7 separate regions of the Homo sapiens genome follow, and all the other regions are linked to region 4. The links are contacts of gene promoters, found by promoter capture Hi-C in human tissues and cell types (Jung and others, 2019). All regions are on one chromosome and are shown on one strand. The core of a region is centred on a gene start or on the middle of the fragment in contact, and the rest is flanking DNA. Distances in the headings are between cores, read along the strand shown.

Region 1 (2,700 bases), core at 51-2,550, 460 kb before region 4:
ATTATAAATATCTGAATATAAAAATTACCTTTCAACCTTATAGAAAGTGATTCTAACATTAAGTAATCTTTTTGATTGGAAAATATTTTAAGTCAGATGATGTAATGATAGCTCTTCAATTTTTCCTTTATATGCCATGACACAGTTCTTTACATTTATTTAATACTCAATAATTCTATGCTGAAATTTAGAGTCTGGATAACACAATTTTCCACTTAGTTTTTTCAACATTCAATTGGTTATGAAATTTAAGTAGAAAAAGTAGCACATCACATTCCTTTCACCAGATGTCATCATTTAAAAAATAAACTTTTCAAGGTCCCCATTAACCTTCACTTGTGAAATCTAATGGCCATTTCTCCATAAAAATCTAACTCAATCTCTCATTTGTAGCTTATTAGTTGACTATTCTCTCCTTGAAAGACTCCTTTTATTCTTGGCTTTAGTATTAGAAAATATTCTTATTTTCCCTCCTATCTCATTGGCTACCACTTCTCCATCTTTTTTTCTGCCTCCTTTCCCCTTATCTGATTTCTAAACCTTAGAGTACTTTAGGTCTCAGTCTTCCGTCCTCTTATCTTCTCCATATAAACCCACTTCCTATGTGACTTTGTCCAATCTCATAGCTTAAAACTATCTCTATGCAGCTGATGCTCTTGATTTATATTGACAGCCATGATGTCTCTCCTGAAAATCAGATTCATATCTTGAGTGGTCTGGTCTGATTATTTCTACCCCTGGATGCCTAAGAGCCCATTAAAATTTAAATTAACCAAAATGGAACTCTCATTTCCCTAGCTTCCTCTTCCTCTCTCAAATATTTTCCCCCCACAATTCTGCCACTTATAATTAAACATAATCACCACCATGCAGTTGTTCATACCAAAATTGGAAGAGCCATCGCCTTAATTGCCAGTATCAACGTTTCATCTCTTAGCTGGTCTTGTTGTCTCTGTGCAAACCAAATTGTATCCCATTCAAGTCTCTTTATGACAATAAACCAAACCGTGGTCATTTCTTGCCAGAGCCATAGATATAGCTTCTTACCTGACTCTCCTTTCTACATTTAGCACTTTACAATTCATGCCAACATAGCAGCCAGAACTTTGGTTTTAAAAATGGAGATTGGACTACTGCTATGTTGCTTAAACCCTGACATGGACTTGAAACTGAAATAAATCCAAACTCCTCAGTTTTGCCTCCAAGGGCCTACCTCATTTAGTTCCTGCCTGTATTTTACACCACCTTTCACCAAGCTCACTGGCCTCTGGCCACACTGGCCATCTGGCCTTCTGTTTTGTGTGCAGCCCCCAGATGGTGATTATTCAGGGTGCCATTTAAATGTCTCCATCCAAGTGATTTTCTGGCCACCTAATTCACAGTAGTCTTATTCTCTTTCCTATTCATTCTCTGTAACATTTCCTCATTTGACTGTCTTCAGAGTACTTATTAACAAGTAACATTTTCTTATTTATTGATTTATTTTTTCACTCCTCATCCACCCTACTGACATTAGAATGTAAAATTGCTAAAGCAGGAGCAGTTCTACTTTGTGTTTCGTGAGCATAAGGCCAGCTCCTACTACATATTAGTTGAATGAGTACACTTTCTCTTCTTTACTGATGGAGACTTTGTCTAGAGTGCACTCCTGGGGCGGGGGACAAGGAGGAGTTCTTTCCATCTTACTATTGCCGAAGTTACCCAGCTGTGTCTGAGCTCCAACTACTCCATGCTTACTCTGGGGCTTTGGAGAGCTCAATGCTCAGAGAGTGTAGTCCTGAGAGACAGGGATCAAAGGAACTCACATACTAGAATCCATGCTCAAGGGAGTTTAGGAGGACTTGGGGTTATATTGTATCTTGAGAGGTAGCCTAGGCAATAGTCACTCTAACATTGTTTTGTGGGAAAACATATGTGTGTCAATATGGAGATGGAGAGGAATTGGCTGAAGAAAAACTGTTGAGAGAGACAGAAGGTGATACTATCTAGTGCCACATTTAGTGACCCTATTCTGAGCTCTGGTCCTTTGATTTGAAGATCCAGGTACTCATTCCTGTTGGTGTTTGTGGGTGATCAGTAGTTGAGCTAATTTAACATAGCTGAAGTTCCCACAAGGCTTTGGCACCAGAATAACAGTATTAATTTATAGTACAAAAATAATAACCTAAGAACCAGAATGCTGTGTTCATATAAAACACGATCTCCTTCTATCTGGGAAGCTAAATTATAATCTAAAGGTTATGTTAGTGAAGAAACAGTGAAAGCTAAAGGAATTTAGAAGATGATTTTCAAAAGTCTTGGGGATATTCTTACTGTAGAGGTATGTCAGTGGGATTGGAAGGTCAACTCCTTTTTATACAATGCTGTGTACATATGAGCCAAATTATGTATCTGTCACAGTTCACATTGAATGTCCAGTCATATTTTATACACAATGTTTTTCCCCTTCACACTGATTATGCAGTAAGCCCCAGAGAAGGTACATACACAGACACACACACGCACGCGCGCACACACACACACGGCTTTTAAAAAAGGGATTTGATTTTTAATAAAAACTCAATTATTTATTATGGCTAAAGAATACAAGGACTGAGTCCATGTAATTAAAATAAGCCTTTTAAAATATAAATATATAAACTAGCTAAGTGAATCCATCATATAGTTTCTCTTGCCCTTGAAAGATTTTTAAAAATCATT
Region 2 (2,709 bases), core at 155-2,654, 350 kb after region 4:
AATTTAAAGGAATAAAGAACAAATTATTAATTTAACCATGGGTAATAGTACTTTGTGTAATTTCCTATGGTTAATCTAACTTACACACACATACACACACACACACACACACACACACTGTTTGAACCATTATTCAAATTCTTGATTCTAAAATGTCCAGGATAAATTAATATAGCTTTGAGTATTTTATATTTATTAATATTATCCTACAATATCACAATGATTTATTAACATTTTGAAATTTATTAAAAACTGAATGTTGTTTTAGATGTTTCAGAGGATGACGTTATCTAGTTTGACCAAAAAAATCATGTATTAGAGGATAATCATAAACCTCTAAATTAATACTTGTAAGGAAGTTATATGATTTGCTTCTCTAAATAGTTAACTTTAAAAAATTTCTCAATAATATTTTCAATCTATACAACCTCTATTGTATAATCTACATTTTGTTGCTTCTTATAAAATTGGTGTCCAAAGTAAATTCTTGAGTATATTATTACTAGTATAAGGAAAGATAGTAACTGTATGCATTCATATTTATAGAAATTCTTGTACTTTTGTGTTACTTTCCCTCCAATAGATATTCCTCTTTTATTGGGATCATCATTTATTTGTCTTATTATAACTTCTAGACACATTACATGATAACTCTAGTAATAGCAGGGTTTTTATCTATATTTTTCTGTTAAATGAGAACACTTCCAGCATTTTCTTAGTTTTTGCTATAATCCCACTCTACCTCATGACAACTCTTAGGTGAGCTTTGCATAAACAATATGGCTCCCCAAAGCACAAACTACAATTTTGAAGAACATTATTCAAATAAATTTCCTATCATTCAAATGCAAGCATTTGAAATAATTCTAAATATTATCTCTCAGAAATAGTCCCTGCTATTTCTTAGTCTCACTTCCCAAGTGTAGTTTGGCCAATGTTTCCAAAGCATTTAACACAACAGATTCTGTATCTGATGATGCCAGAACCATAGAGCAATTTGTCTAGAAGCCCAAACCATTTCAGGCCACACAGATCCTTCAGATTACTGTCTGGGAAGGAAAGAAAAAAATAAAGGAGGAGAATGGAGGATATAAACCACCCAAGTATGGTAATTTATGTGATAGAGAGGAGTATGTTTACAGACTCCCTAAGATATATTTTGAGATGTGTTGAAGGAACACAGTTTGGCTGAGGGGATTGAAGGAATAGTAGTAGAGGAAATGGAATTATTTATGAGATCACAGAAAGTGGTTGTTCATTTACAAAGCCCAACAACCTAAGGCAAATAATACGAAATCTCAGATGTAATAATAATGAGGCATTTGAATGGAACAAGAGAAATGTCTGGTGACTAATTTACAGAAATATAAACTTCAACTTTATCAAAATCATCAGAAGTTGTTGAAATCATCACTTATGAGATACACATAATTCATTGGGAGAAGATTCTTTCTATGTGTGAAGGCACCTAGACAGAGAAAAGGTTGAATTGATTTTATGCTTAGGAATATTATTTTTGTTGTTTAAAAATGACATGATTAGTGAATTTCTATGGAAATCATGAGAGAATTGCAAATAGGTATTGACAAAATCTTTATACTATTTAATTTCATGTATTTGTGAATTTTGTTATTTTTAACCGATGTATGCCAAGCTCCTATTTTTGTTTACTCTATAATAATAAAGATATTTTTCTTTTATTATTTAAAAGAAGAAGATGCTTAAATGGAGAGAAGTAATATGTTCAAGGTGCTATTGCACCAGTAACATTTTTAAGATCATGGAACAAGATGTACAAATAACAGAAAATACCTTGATAATTTTCTGAGGTTTAAAAGACAATGGGAACATTTGAATCCAAATCAAGTGTGATACAATTTTAATTGAAGAAAGATATCAAATGCAAAACAATTAGAATTACTGCACAATTAAATTTTTCTTTCAGTGTTTATTTTTGTACTCCATATAATGGCAATGGTGAATCCATTTTTTTGAAGCTTAAATTTACACAATTTGGTGAACATCTTTAGGTTAAAACAAAAGAAGAAACAAAAAATACATACGGTATGGAATATTTATTTAGACAGAGAAAATATATCATAATCATAAATTTCAAGAAGCTGACACAACATAATAAAATACAGAAAAACAAGAAAATATATTATGTGACATACTCTACAATAATTTTCTGTATTTTTCTATTATTTTATTGTCTTTTAGGTAATATTTTATAATAATATTTCTATAGAGAAAATTGTAAGCCTTTTTTTCATCTTCCATTGGTTGTTCAAAAGTTGTTTTATTATTGATAACTTTTAAAAATGTCATTCATCTTCAAACTTATTTTATTATGTACTGATTTATTTATTTTTAGAGAAGAGTCTCATTCTATTACCCAAGCTGGAGTACGGCAGCCCAGTGATAATTTACTGCAGCATCAACCTCTCCTGGGCTCCAGTGATCCTCCCACTTCAGCCTCCTGAATAGCTGGGATCACAGATGTGCACCAGTATGCCTGACTTTTTTTTTTTTTTAATTATTATTTAGGGACAGGGTCTATCTCTATTGCTAAGGCTGGTCTTGAATTCCTGGCCTCAAGCAATCTTTAAACTTGCTGTTAATGAACTGGTGACATAAACATCTGTTTATAATGGTGTGACAGATTTACTCTGCCATCTTAAACAACTAAAAATAGCAGAAAAACATATG
Region 3 (2,755 bases), core at 40-2,539, 440 kb before region 4:
ATGACATTTTATTTGAAGGAACATGACTGTGAGTTTTTCTCATTTGGCAAGACATGAAATCAGAAGACCTGTGGTCAAGTTCAGCTCTGTCTCCTGCTAGCCATGTGACATTGTACTCAATAATCTAGCTTATTTAAGATGGTTTCCTATGTGTGGAATGTGGAGATACGAATATTCACTTCCTACTTCCCAGTTCGTGATGGAGATTATTACACCAAAGTGTCCTATTCAGATCCAGGCAGACTCTGCTCTTGGAGGCTGAGTTGGTGCATGAAGGTTCATGGACTTCCTAGGAGCTTCTCTTATAAAGGGCTGAGCTTTAGTCCTCCTTGGCTAAACAATAAATAACATTTATTGGACACTATGCTAAGAACCTTATATGGAAAAATACATTTATAATAAGTTCGTAACCTCACAATGAGGTGGCTATTAATATTACACCTTTATTACAGGTAAGGGAAAGGAGGCTTAGCAAGGCTAAATTCTTGCAGGGATAATCACAGGAGAGGTGACAAGGGCTACGTGGGCATGACCTCACATTTTTAAAAGAGCTGATATGCAGTCTTATGATCCTATTTATAAATAAGACTACATCTACAGGTGTTGTGCATGCTTATTAATGGCAGAGCTTAAATCGTACCCAGGCATTCTGGACCTTGCAGATGAAAATAAGTCTTTCAAGAAGGAAATCGGGATAGGTTACACATTTGTTCAGAAAATTTAGGCTGAGCCATCACTTCAGAAACCTGTAGCTGATTTTTGAACTTCTAATTTAAGATTACTATTTCTTTTCGTTTCCTTCTATTTTAAAACCAAATAAAATTTATTCTCTTAGATGGACATGTTTTGCACTTTTCATTATGGACATTTGTCTGTTCTCCTTATCTATTAGTCTTTTATTCATTTGTATTCCTCTTACACTACAAAACTAAATCAAAAAGCACATTTCAGGCCAGGCGCAGTGGATCATGCCTATAATCCCAGCACTTTGGGAGGCCAAGGCAGGTGGATCACCTGAGGTCAGGAGTTCAAGATCAGCCAAGGCAACATGGTGAAACCCTGCCTCTACTGGAGAAAAAAAAAAATGGGCGTGGTAGCGGGCACCTATAATCCCAGCTACTTGGGAAGCTGAGGCAGGAGAATCACTTGAACTGGGGAGGCAGAGGTTGCAGTGAGCCAAGATCACGCCACTGCACTCCAGCCTGGGTGAAAGAGCAAGACCCCATCTCAAAAAAAAAAAAAAAAAAAAAAAAAAAAAAAAAAAAAAAATTCAGATATCCAAAATTCAAAGAAAACCCACAAAATAGAAGTTTTATGAATTAAATAGACTCTTCAGATACATGTAAGAATTAGACGTACCACGACAAAAAAAAAAAAAAAGCTTTCTTATTTCAGTGCTTTTGTGGTTCATATTGACAGAAGGTAGGACAAGGAACATCAGCTAGGACCGATCAAGTCAGCTCCTCTTCATCTTTTAAATTGGAAGGAAGCACCTGAGACATCAACTATTGAATGAAGCATAGTACTCACCTTAATTTTGCTTTAAATTATTTAGTCTTTGTTACACAATAAGCTCTTTTACTACTCACTTTAGCCTGTGTATTTTGATTTGTTCATTTATTGACTTGCCTGATTATCACCCAGTATTTAAATAAATTATGATTCTAACTATAAATATGGACTTTGGTGAACCCTTACATTAAAATAAAAAATAAACTCAATCTTACAAATCATTTTTGAACTGCTGTTGCTCAGAAACTGAAATCTCAAGGAATAGAACCAGAATATTTTATCAACTAAACCTGAACAGAACTTCTATAAATTACAAAAACTATTTAAAGCCTTTTACTTGTTCATAAAGAAATACAAATAATTAATGTCAAGTCTTCAATTACAAGAACGGGTATATCCTCATGTGATTCAATGTAGGGAGCCCTCTGGGTCCCCTTTCTAGCTTAACATTCTCCATCGCCTATTTAGTTCTACTTGTTTTCATAAGGGAATATATTATCTTTCAACGTGGGCCTCTAGAATTTCTTAAGTTTGAAAAAGTTCATCTTCATAGCTATCAGATGTTAAACTGCTTTAAGCATCTTTGTAAAGGGAATGCAAGTCATTGCAAATACAATGTTGAATTCATTGCTTTGCATATACTAATCTTTGGTTTTACTGAATAAATAATAAATATTACATAGAATGCAAAATATACACTCAGAAATTTAAATGTGTATAAGGACTGTACTGATGAAATCTGTATCTTTGAATTTTTGATCAAATGCTAAATTCAGTGTCTTTATGTGAGATATGACATCTCTCACACAATTCATAAATCTAATTTGTCATCTTTTATTTAATCATGTTTATATTATGTAACAAATGTATATAAAATATATATCATCTACATTTCGTATTTTTGTGTCATATGCATAGTTCTAATTGTAATGTAATTTAAGAAAATACACTTGTATATTTTATATCACCAAATAAATTGTGGAAGAAAAGTAGAAAATATATAAGAAACAATGTATACAGAATAAAAATGTATAATCAAGGGCATACGAATATACTGGAGCTAAATGACTAATGAAAATTATAAAAAAGATATAATAGTTCTAGTTTGGTCAAAGCATACAGACATTATCTTTGGCTTTAGTGAGCTTATCGAGAATGAATTGGGTATGAATGCATGCTTTGCCAGCCCTGGGTGCAAATTATAATGCTGCCATTGATTAGCTATGTGAGTTCCTCAACGTTT
Region 4 (2,700 bases), core at 192-2,691:
GGAAGAAGGGTAACGAGGCGTCTACAATGGGTCACCGAAGCAGCCAAAAGTCACCCACTTCCTCCAGTCAAGCAAAGTACTAGTGAGAAACGTGGTCCAGAGGTGTAACTCTTATTCCAAGATAGGGCTCCTGGTAAAGTCACAGTTCTCAGAAGGGCAACTTTCCCTCCAAGACAGGTATTTGGAATAATGGCAACAAAATACAACGTCCTAACAATCACCCTCAACAGAACCCAGCCAAATCTCTTCCTGCAGGTGGGCTAGGCCACCCTCTGGCACAAATAAGCACACAGGTGCAGCCGTTTCTTCAAACAGGTGTTTTTGATTTCTCCCCGGCACAGTCTGGATAATATAGGGTCAGTATGTGGAGTGTAGGATAGAGAAGACGAACGAGAGTCACCCAATAGAATTCTTTCGACGAATTAGGGAACCCTTACACCTACCCTTCTCACTCTTTCAAACCTTCCTTTCCAAGTAGCCCTTCCCGCCAAAGGAGTCTCAAAAAGGCGACCTGTTGTTGTAGCTCAGGAGATGCGGTCACAGCCGCTGCCCCACGTCTCTCTTTGGGGGTCCAGCTGCTGCTGCCTCTACTCCTCGGGCTGTATTTGCAGAGATGGAGGTGATGTGCAGTGGTTACGGTGGGGGGCGTTAATAGAGATTCTCCTCCCCCACGTCTACAAACACCCTCTGTGTCTGCCAAAAGCGTTCGCCCAATCGCCCCTTCACTCTCTTTTCAAGTTCAGCTCAGGTGCAGTGTGACAGTTACAGAGCTCAGGAGCTGGCAGCCGCCGCCGCCGTGGCGGCAGCAGCATCTGCTTCCGCGCAGAACGCGCCGCTCCCGCGGTACATACCTGGCCAAGTGCGCGCCGGGGCTTAGTTGCATAGAGACTTTCTCCTCGCCGTGCACCCGGAAAGGGAAGAGGAGAGAAAGCAGCTCGCGAGCAGCCGAATCCGATGCGCCGAGAGAGCATAAATAAAGCTCAAGCGAGCTCTTCTTTCCCTTCCCCCATCCCTCCGTGCCTCCCTCCTCCTTTTCACCTTCCAAAAGCCAGGCGCAGGCGAGCAGAGCAGCAGCAACAAGTTCAAAAGGTGCGGGGGAGGCGAGAACGGAGGGGACTCGCTCCTGCCAACTTACTGCGGGGCCACTGTCGCGGGAGCCTGGCCAGCGCGGTGCGGGGCTGCGGGGCGGCGGGGCTGCGGGGCGGCCGGGCGGGCGGCGTTGGCGCGGTGGGGCCGGGGCCGGGGCCGGCACGGGCTCTCGTCCGAGCGCGGAGGCAGAAGGCGCTCGGCAGCGCGGGGGCGCGGGAGGGCTGCTAGCTGCTTCCCCGCCAGTGGGTGGTCCTGCATCTCCCCGGGCTCCCCGCGCTGCTCTGCTAGTGCGATCAATAAATAAGGAGAAAATAAATAAATAACCGCGCGCACGCCCCGCCACGCAGGTTAGGAAAGGCGTCTCCTGCCTTTCCCTCGGCTTGACCTTTCTCCGCCCCCGCCCCCTCGGGCTCCTCTCGCTCCACCCCAGCCACCCACCAACCCCGGCGCAAAATGTCACCGAGGGAGAGCATCCAGGTGGATCTGCTGGGGAGAAAAGCGAGCCTCGGATGAACAAAGGGAAGCTTCACGTGCTGGGCTGCGGTGGTTTGGTGGAGGAGAGGAGAAAGGGGACCCGTGCCTTGCTTCTGCCTCTCGAGTCCCGGTTCAAGGCGAGCGTGGGAAAATGGGGGGAAAGAGAGCGAGAGAAGCTGGGAAGGAGGGTGAGCGGAGCGGAATGCGCAGGAATTGGTTGTCTTCTGGGGGCGACTGGAAGGCAAGACCCGCAAAGCTCCGACGCGGAATTTTTAAGTGCATTTCCTCTTTCTGTTTTTATTTATTTTCAAAACCAGATTGTTAACGTTGCAGGGATTGATATGCCATCTGTCCAACTTGCCAAAAAATCAGAGACTCTCCTCGATCGAGGTCTTGACACAACTCCTTTTCCCGTCCTTTACGAATAACAGGGATGTGGAGCCCTTTTCTAAATGTCATCGTCAAGGGGCGTGCGTCTCTGAAAGTTTGCGTCCCCTTCATCCTCTCTGCGCATCACTGCGCATATTTAAAATAGTTAAAAGAGTTAAAGGTGTTCGTATGAGGGGTTACTGAGGTAGAGAGACACAGGAAAATTGTCGCTACCAACCTTTTTGTTTTTCGCGTACCCCGCCCCCGAGTCATTAGGAATCATCCTTAAAACCAAACGTAACACATACAAGCCACTAGATGGCGTGGATGGCGAGAAGTTAAATCTGCACCTAAGGTTTGGATGCTTTAGGAAGGTGAAGGATCAAAATTAACTGGTCCAACAGAGAGTCAGATCACATAAACATCCCCAAACCCCTTCGCTGCCACCCACCTTTTTTGTGTTTATGTGACATATACTACTTAGGCTTGAGTCTGCATTTGGATAGTTGTGGGATGAGATGTGGAGAGTTTCCTTTTGAAATTCCTTTGAAAATTAAATCTAGATTACTGAATCATCATCATCATAGTAATTAAGATCTTTGGCAATAATGAGGCTTCATCTGTATTGATGAAGAATAGTAGCCTAATTTCTACCTAAAAATTACTTTTCATGGCTTGGTTTGACTGCCCTTGGTTTGTAAAATAAGTGGACTGTGTGTTGTACTTTACGGAAATTGACTTTTAAGCCCTAGAGATTACAGGCATGAT
Region 5 (2,700 bases), core at 136-2,635, 390 kb after region 4:
CTTCCTGCAGATTTGTTGAATAGCTTTGACCAAAATGCTGATAGTGATATGGGCAATAAAGTCTAGGCTGATGTGGTCTCAAATGGCGATGGAGAAATTCTTGGGAACTGGAGTAAAAGTTACTCTTGCTATGCAAAGGGACTGGCAGCATTTTGCCCCTGCCCTAGAGTTCTGTGGAACGTTGAACTTAAGAGATATTATTTAGGGTACCTGGCAGAAGAAATTTCTAAGTGGCAAAGTATTTTTAAAAAAAAAACAGTTTAAAAGTTTACAAAATTTACAGGCTGACAGTGCAGTATAAAAAAAGAAAAAAATCATTTTCTGGGGAATAATTCAAGCCTGCTGCAGAAATTTGCATAAGTAACGAGAAGCCAAATGTTAATCACCAAGACAATAGGGAAAATATCTTCAGGGCATGTCAGAGACCTTCATGGCAGCACCTCCCATCACAGGCCTCAGGCTTAGAAGGGAAATATAGTTTTCTGAGCCAGGCCCAGGGCCTTCCTGCTGTGTGCAGCCTAGGGAGTTTGTGCCGTCCATCCCAGCCACTCCAGCCATGGCTAAAAGTGGCCAACATGCAATCAGGCCATGGCTTCAAAGGGTAAGCCCCGAGCCTTGGCAGCTTCCATATGGTGTTGGTTCTGTGGATGTGCAGAAGACAAGAATTGAGAAGACAAGCATCTATCCTCTGCCTAGATTTCATAGGATGTATGCAAATGCCTGGATGTCCATGCGGGGTGTACTGCAGGAGTGAAGCTCTCATGGCGAACCCCTGCTAGGGCAGTACCAAACGAAAATGTGGGTTGGAGCCCCCCACACACAGATTCTCCACTGGGGAACTGCCTAGTGGAGCTATGAGAAGAGAGCCACCATCCTTCAGAATGCAGAATGGTAGCTCTTCCAACACCTTGTACCATGTGCGTGGGAAAGCCACAGTTACTCAATGCCAGCCTGTGAAAGCAGCCAGAAGGGTGGCTGTACCCTGGAAAGCCACAGGGGTGAAGCTGCCCAAGACCATGGGAACCCATTACTTGCATCAGCATGAGCTGGATGCGAGACATAGAGTCAAAGGAGATCATTTTGGAGCTTTAAGATTTGACTGCCCTACTGGATTTCAGATTTGCACGGGGCCTGTAGCCCCTTCATTTTGGCCATTTTTCTCATTTGGAATGAGTGTATTTATGCAGTATCTGTACCCCCCTTGTATCTAGGAAGTAACTAACTTGCTTTTGATTTAACAGGCTCATAGGCAGAAGGACTTGCCTTGTCTCAGATGAGAATTTGGACTGTGAACTTTTGAGTTAATGCTGAAATGAGTTAAGACATTGGGGGACTGTTGGGAAGGCATGACTGGTTTTGAAATGTGAGGACGTGGGATTTGGGAGGGGCCAAAAGTGGAATGATATGGTTTGGCTCTTTCCCAACCCAAATCTCATCTTGAATTTTAGCACCTGTAATCCCCACATGTCCTGAGAGGGACCTGGTGGGAGGTAATTGAATCATTGGAGTGTGTTTTTCCTGTGCTGTTCTCATGATAGTAAATAAGTCTATGAGATCTTATCATTTTATAAAGGGCAGTTCCCCTGCACATGCTCTCTTGCCTGCCACCATGTAAGACATGCCTTTGTTCCCCCTTTGCCTTCCAACATGATTGTTAGCCTCCTCAGCCATGTGGAACTGTGAGTCCATTAAACCTATATTTGTTTGTAAATCACCTAGTCTTGGATATTTCTTCATAGTAACATGAAAATGGACAAGTAGAAACATTGTTGGAAAAAATTGAAGAGGACACCAAAACATGGAAAGATACTCTATGTTCACAGATGGAAATAATCAATATTGCTAAAATGTTCATACTACTTAAAGAAATCTGTAGATTCAATGCAATGCCTATCAAAGTACCCATGACATTCTTCACAGAAATAAAATAAAAACTATCCTAAAATATACATGGAACCACAAAAGACCAGAAGTGCCAAAGCCATCATGAGCAAAAAGACAAAACTGCAGGAATCACGTTACCTGATTCATGTTATACTACAGAGCAATAGTAACCGAAACAGCATGGTAGTGGCAGAAAATAAAAAGCCACAGTCATACAGACCAAGGGAATAGAATGGAGAACCCAGAAACAAATCCATACATCTACAGTGAACTAAATTTTGACAAAGATGTCATGAATATACAATGGGGAAAGGACAGTTTCTTTAGTAAATGGTGCTGGGATAACTGGATATCTATATGCAGGAGAATGAAACTAGTCCCCTGTCTCTTGCCATATACAAATATCAAATCAAAATGGATTAGAGACAAATCTAAGACTTCAAACTATGAAACTAACCCAAAAAAATATTGGGGAAAGTCTCCAGGACTTTGGTGTGGGCAAATGTTTCCTGAGCAATACACTACAAGCACAGACAATCAAAACAAAAATTCATAAGTAGAATCACATCAAGTTTAAAAGCTTCTGTAAAGCAAAGATACAATAAACAAAGTGAAAAGACAACCCACAGAATGGAAGCAAATATTTGCAAACTACCCATCTCACAAGGGATTCATAACAAGAATATATGAGGAGTTCGAACAACTTTGTAGGAAAAAAATCTAATAATCCAATTACAAAGTAAGGAAAAGATCAGAATAGACATTTCTCAAAGAGAGACATACAAATGGCAAACAGTCATATGAAAAGGTACTCAA
Region 6 (2,700 bases), core at 134-2,633, 450 kb after region 4:
TAAAGGGTTTCTCCTTATAAAACCATCAAATCTCGTGAGACTTACTCACTACTACACAAACAGTATGGGGAAAACCATCCCCATGATTCCATCATTTCACACTGGGTCCCTCCGACAACATGAAAGAAGTATGGGAGCTACAATTCAAGGTGAGATTTGGGTGAGGACACAGCCAAACCATATCATTCTATACCTGGCCCCATCCAAATCTCATGTCCTCACATTCAAAACCAATCATGCCTTCCCAACGGTCCCCCAAAGTCTTAAGTTATTTCAGCATTAACTCAAAAATCCATAGTCCAAAGTCTTATCTGGGACAAGGCAAGTCCCTTCCACCTATGAGCCTGTAAAATCAAAAGCAAGTTAGTTACTTCCTAGATACAATGGGGGTACAGGCATTGGGTAAATATAGTCATTCCAAATAGGAGAAATTGGCCAAAACAAAGGGGCCTATAGCCCCTTTGAAATCCAGTGGAGGAGTCAAATATTAAAGCTTCAAAATGATCTCCTTTGATTCCATGGCTCACATCCAGGTCACACTGATGCAAGAGGTGGGTTCCCATGGTCTTGTGCAGCTCCACTCCTGTGATTTTGCAGGGTACAGCCTCCCCCATGGCTGCTGTCACAAGATGGTGTTGAATGTCTGGCTTTTCCAGGTGCACGGTGCAAGCTGTCTGTGGACGTATCATTCTGGGATCTGGAGGATGGTGGCCCTCTTCACAGCTCCACTGGGCAGCACCCCAGTGGGGACTCTGTGTGGGGCTTCAACCCCACACTTCCCTTCAGCACTGCCCTAGCAGACGTTCTCCGTGAGGGCCCTATCTCTGTATCAAACTTCTGCCTGGACGTCCAGGAATTTGTATACATGGTCTGAAATCTAGGCAGAGGTTCCCAAATGCCAATTCTTGACTTCTTTGCACTCAAAGACTCAACAGCATGTGGAAGCTGCCAATGCTTGGGGCTTGAACCCTCTGAAGCCACAGCCCAAGCTTTACATTGGCCCCCTTCAGCCCCAGCTGTAGCAGCTGGAAACAGGGCACCATATCTCTAGGCATTACACAGCAGGGGGACCCTGTACCCAGCCCACAAAACCATTTCTTTTTCCTAGGCCTCCAGGCCTTTGATGCGGGGGCCTGCCATGAAGACCTCTGACATGCCCTGGAGATATTTTTCTTACTGTCTTAGTGGTTAACATTTGTCTCCTCATTACTTACACAAATTTCTGCAGCTGGCTCAAATTTCTCCTCAGAAAATGGATTTTTCTTTTCTATAACATCATCAGGCTGCAAATTTTCTGAACTTCTGTGGATCATCTCCTTCAAGTTCAGAGTTCCACAAGTCTCTAGGGCAGGGGCAAAATTATGTCAGTCTCTTTGTTAAAACATAACAAGAGTTACCTTTGCTCAAGTTCCCAAAAAGTTCCTTATTTCCATCTGAGACCATCTCAGCCTGGATTTCATTGTCCAATCATTATCAGCATTCCATTCAAAGCCATTCAATAAGACTCTAGGAGGTTCTTAAGTTTCACTCATTTTCCTGTTTTCTTCTGAGCCCTTCAAACTGTTCCAACCTCCACCTGTTACCCAGTTGTAAAGTTGCTTTCACATTTTCGAGCCTCTTTTCAGCAGTGCCCCACTCTTCTGATACCAATGAACTTTATTAGTCTGTTTTCACATTGCTGATAAAGACATACCGGAGATTAGGCAACTTACAAAAGAAAGACGTTTAATGGACTCACAGTCCCACATGGTTGGGGAGGCCTTACAATCATGGCTAAAGGTGAAAGGCACTTCTCACATGGCGGCAGACAAGAGAAGAAAATGGGAGTCCAGCAATAGGGCTTTCCCCTTATAAAACCATCAGCTCTCATGAGACATTGACTACCACAAGAACAGTATGGTGGAAACTGCCCCCATGATTCAATCATCTCCCACTGGGTTCCTCCCACAATACATGGGAATTATGGGAGCTACAATTCAAGATGAGATTTGGGTGGGGATACAGCCAAACCATATCACTGGGAAAAGATTTCTTTGAACGTAACTGCTATAACACAGACAACAATTGTAAAAATAGACAAATGAGATTAGATCAACCAAAGTGCTTTTACACAGCAAAAGGAACTGGCATTAGTGTGAAAAAGCAACCTAATGTATGGAAAAAATATTTGCAAACAATTTGTTGGAAAAATGGTTAATAGTTAAAATACATTTAAAAATTCGACAGCTTACAACTCAATAGCAAAGACAAGATAATAACCCATCTTTAATCAACATTTTTTAAAAAATACAACATAAAAATGACTACCAGATTCATGAGAAAATCTAAAAATCATGGATCATCAGAAAAGTGTAACTCAAAACTAAATTAGATGTTTTATCACACCAGTTAGAATGTTCATTATAAAAATAAAATAACAAGTGCTGGTGAGGATGGGGAGAAAAAGGAACACTCATACATTGCATGTGTGAATGTAAATGAGTGCACTCATTATGAAAAAACAGTAAATAAATTTCTCAAAAAAATAAAATGGAATTACAATAGATCTCCACTCTTTCAGGTTTTTGCTTCCCTTGTCTCAGTTATCCCCAGTCAACCTCAGTTTTAAAATATTCAATATACAATTCCTGAAACAATTCATAAATTTTAAATTCAATGTTTTTCTGAGTAATGTAAGAAACTCTCATGCTGTCCCACTCT
Region 7 (2,759 bases), core at 177-2,676, 430 kb after region 4:
ATTTTATTTTCAAATAAGGTATTACATTAAAAAATTTGGAAGACCTTGCAGTTGATTGAAAAGTTAAGATATAATTAGGTATTCTTTATTTAAAAATTACCTAAAGGATCATTAGATGTAAACATTTTAATCTTTATTTGTCAGCATTGAGAAATATAAAAATAGCGTATATATCCATGTAACGAGCCATATAGGAGTGTAGATGTGAGGAAATTAAACAATTTCTGTTGATACACGAGGTAGGTGAAAGTGTCAGCTTGAAGAGCTTAAAAATAGAAATAACATTAAAATATATAATAACAACGGCAACAGATGCAATATAAAATCTATACATAAATGTAATGCTCTTGATGTGCCATTATTACCATCTCTGGTTTCCCTAAATAGTAGCAGTTTTTAATTTTCAGTGAGAAATATTATTCATCCATCAGTCTCTTTCTAGGGCCACTCTGTGTTAGTGGACTCTGTAATTGGACAAATTCGTGAAACTTATTAAAGCTAATAGTATCTTTGGACACTTAGACACTGCTATCTCTGTACTTCCTAATATACATCTGTATTTTAGTTCCATAATACTCCATTCTTAGTGATCCAGAAAGTAAGCTTCCATTTTTTTGTGGTAAATTACTTATAAAATCTAACCTCTCAGTAAGTTTTTAAGTATACTTTATGGTATTGTCAACCATATGTATACTTTTTTACTGCAGATCTTTAGACATTTTCATCTTGCGTGACAAAAACTCTGTATCCATTGAAGAATAACACCTCATTTTCCTTCTTGGCAGACAATGGAAACCATCATTCTACTTTATATGAGTTTACTATTTTGGATATCTCATTTAACAGAACCATGCACTATCTGTCCTTCTGTCTGGTTTATTTCACCTAGTATAATGATGTCAGTTTCATCTGTGTAGTATATGGCAGGATTTTTGTTTATTTAGACTGAGTCTCGCTCTGTCACCCAGGATGGAGTGCAGTGGTGTGATCTCAGCTCACTGCAAACTCCACCTCCTGGATTCAAGCGATTCTCCTGCCTCAGCCTCCCGAGAAGCTGGGATTACAGGCACGCTCCACAACGCCTGGCTAATTTTTGTACTTTTAATAGAGAAGAGGTTTACCCATGTTGCCCAGGATGGTCGCGAATTCCTGACCTCAGACTGATGCGCCCTCCATGGCCTCCTAAAGTGCAGGGATTAAAGGTGTGAGCCACCACACCTGACCAGGATTTTATTTTTTAAGACTGAATAAAATTCCATTATATGTTATATACCACGTTTTGATAGGTATTGCATAGGATCTATAATTAGTTATTTTGGTTAGTATGGATATTTCAACAACATTAGGTCTTCCAATCCACAAACACAGGTTACATTTCCATTTACTTGCATCTTTAATTCCTTTCATCAGTGTTTTCGGTATGTATTTTACTTTCTCATTTAAGTTTGTTCCTAAGTATTATATTCCTTTGTTATTATTAAAAATTAGACTTTTAAAAAGATTTTCTTTGTGGATTGTTTGTTGTTATTTTACATAAACACTGGCTTTTGCATATACATTTTGTATGCTGCAATTGCTGAATTCATTTATTATCTTAACTGTGTGTGTGTGTGTGTGTGTGTTTGTGTGTAAGGTGTTGCTTTCTGATATATGGCCTTTTTATGTTGAGGTTATATCCTTTTATTCTTAGTTTGACTTCTTTTATCATAAAAGGATGTTGAATGTTTTTTTCAATGCTTCATTCTATGTCTACTGAGATGATCATGTAATTTTTAACCTTGGTGTATCACATTTATTTTTGTATGTTGAACCATTCTTGCATCCCAAGAATAAGTCCCACTTGATCATGGTATATGGCTATTTTAATGTGCTATTGACTATGGGTTTCTAATATTTTGTTGAACATTTTTGCATCTATATTTATAAGGGGTATTAGCCTGCAATTTTATTTTCTTATAATGTCTTTGCCAGGCTTTGGTATCAGGATAATGGTGGCCTCATAAAATGAGTAAGTATTCTTTCCTCTTCAGTTGTTTTGGAAGAAGTTGAGAAGGATTAGTATTAATTCTTCTGTAAATGTTTGCTTGACATATCCAGTGAAGACATGGTCCTAAGCTTTTCTTTGTCAGGAGATTTTTAATTACCAATTCAATCTCCTTACAAAAAAAAAAAAGATTAGAAATAAACGAAATATATAATAGAGTAACGATTTAAAAATAAAGAGAAATAAAACTTTGTTTTCTGAAAACATCAAGAAACTTGACAATAGCTTTTTTTTTTCCTTCCTACTCGTAACTTTGGATTTTGCTTGTTCCTTTTTTAGAGTTGCTTGAGGTATAAAATTAGGTGGTTTAAATAATATGCTTTCTTTTTCATGTAGAGTTTTACCAGTGTAAACTTTCCTCTTAGTACTGCATTTGCTGTATTTTATCAATTTTTATGCTATATTTTTTCTTTTCGTTTGTATCAAGATGTTGTCTAATTTTTTTAAATTTTTTCTTTGAAGTATTGCTTGTTCAGTACTGTGTTAATTTTCACATATTTCTGATTTTTTTAGTTTTCCTTCCTTTATTGATTTCTTTTTTTATTTTATTGTGGTCAAAAAAGATACTCAGTATAACCTCAATCTTCCTAAATGGGTTAACACTTGTTTTTTGACCTAATATGTGATCTATGCTTGGGAATGTTCTATGCATGCTTGAGAAGAATGTGCATTCTTCAGTTGTTTAATGGAATTTTCCATATATGCTTTTTAGTTC

Evidence for each region. The method cuts DNA at HindIII sites, captures the fragments that hold promoters and counts their contacts. A contact is called where the count stands out against the background at its distance.
Region 1: a contact is called between a fragment that was not itself captured here and the fragment with the promoter of KCND2 in region 4, in 1 of the 25 tissues and cell types used here (mesenchymal stem cells).
Region 2: a contact is called between a fragment that was not itself captured here and the fragment with the promoter of KCND2 in region 4, in 2 of the 25 tissues and cell types used here (mesenchymal stem cells and mesendoderm cells).
Region 3: a contact is called between a fragment that was not itself captured here and the fragment with the promoter of KCND2 in region 4, in 2 of the 25 tissues and cell types used here (dorsolateral prefrontal cortex and lymphoblastoid cells).
Region 5: a contact is called between a fragment that was not itself captured here and the fragment with the promoter of KCND2 in region 4, in 5 of the 25 tissues and cell types used here (dorsolateral prefrontal cortex, heart left ventricle, liver and 2 more).
Region 6: a fragment that was not itself captured here is called in contact with the fragment with the promoter of KCND2 in region 4 in 2 of the 25 tissues and cell types used here (mesenchymal stem cells and small bowel).
Region 7: a fragment that was not itself captured here is called in contact with the fragment with the promoter of KCND2 in region 4 in 4 of the 25 tissues and cell types used here (hippocampus, lymphoblastoid cells, mesenchymal stem cells and 1 more).

Annotation. Positions count from the first base shown.
Region 1 is chr7:120,730,044-120,732,743 of GRCh38, reverse strand. The region is part of intron 1 of KCND2 (potassium voltage-gated channel subfamily D member 2); the gene reads right to left. Among named protein-coding and RNA genes, the nearest start is that of TSPAN12, 130 kb to the left of the region's middle. The HindIII fragment of the contact is 4,011 bases long and covers 1-2,700 here.
Region 2 is chr7:119,918,473-119,921,181 of GRCh38, reverse strand. No RefSeq gene overlaps it. Among named protein-coding and RNA genes, the nearest start is that of LINC02476, 12 kb to the right of the region's middle. The HindIII fragment of the contact is 8,566 bases long and covers 1-2,709 here.
Region 3 is chr7:120,710,756-120,713,510 of GRCh38, reverse strand. The region is part of intron 1 of KCND2 (potassium voltage-gated channel subfamily D member 2); the gene reads right to left. Among named protein-coding and RNA genes, the nearest start is that of TSPAN12, 150 kb to the left of the region's middle. The HindIII fragment of the contact is 4,297 bases long and covers 1-2,755 here.
Region 4 is chr7:120,271,916-120,274,615 of GRCh38, reverse strand. KCND2 (potassium voltage-gated channel subfamily D member 2) reads right to left here and starts at 1,441. Exons shown (of 6, transcript NM_012281.3): 1 at 1-1,441. RefSeq lists an enhancer at 676-745 and silencers at 1,186-1,335, 2,255-2,354. The HindIII fragment of the contact is 5,227 bases long and covers 1-2,490 here.
Region 5 is chr7:119,883,971-119,886,670 of GRCh38, reverse strand. All of the region lies in intron 1 of LINC02476 (long intergenic non-protein coding RNA 2476), which reads left to right. Among named protein-coding and RNA genes, the nearest start is that of LINC02476, 22 kb to the left of the region's middle. The HindIII fragment of the contact is 5,156 bases long and covers 1-2,700 here.
Region 6 is chr7:119,816,962-119,819,661 of GRCh38, reverse strand. All of the region lies in intron 1 of LINC02476 (long intergenic non-protein coding RNA 2476), which reads left to right. Among named protein-coding and RNA genes, the nearest start is that of LINC02476, 89 kb to the left of the region's middle. The HindIII fragment of the contact is 4,042 bases long and covers 1-2,700 here.
Region 7 is chr7:119,845,924-119,848,682 of GRCh38, reverse strand. The region is part of intron 1 of LINC02476 (long intergenic non-protein coding RNA 2476); the gene reads left to right. Among named protein-coding and RNA genes, the nearest start is that of LINC02476, 60 kb to the left of the region's middle. The HindIII fragment of the contact is 5,258 bases long and covers 1-2,759 here.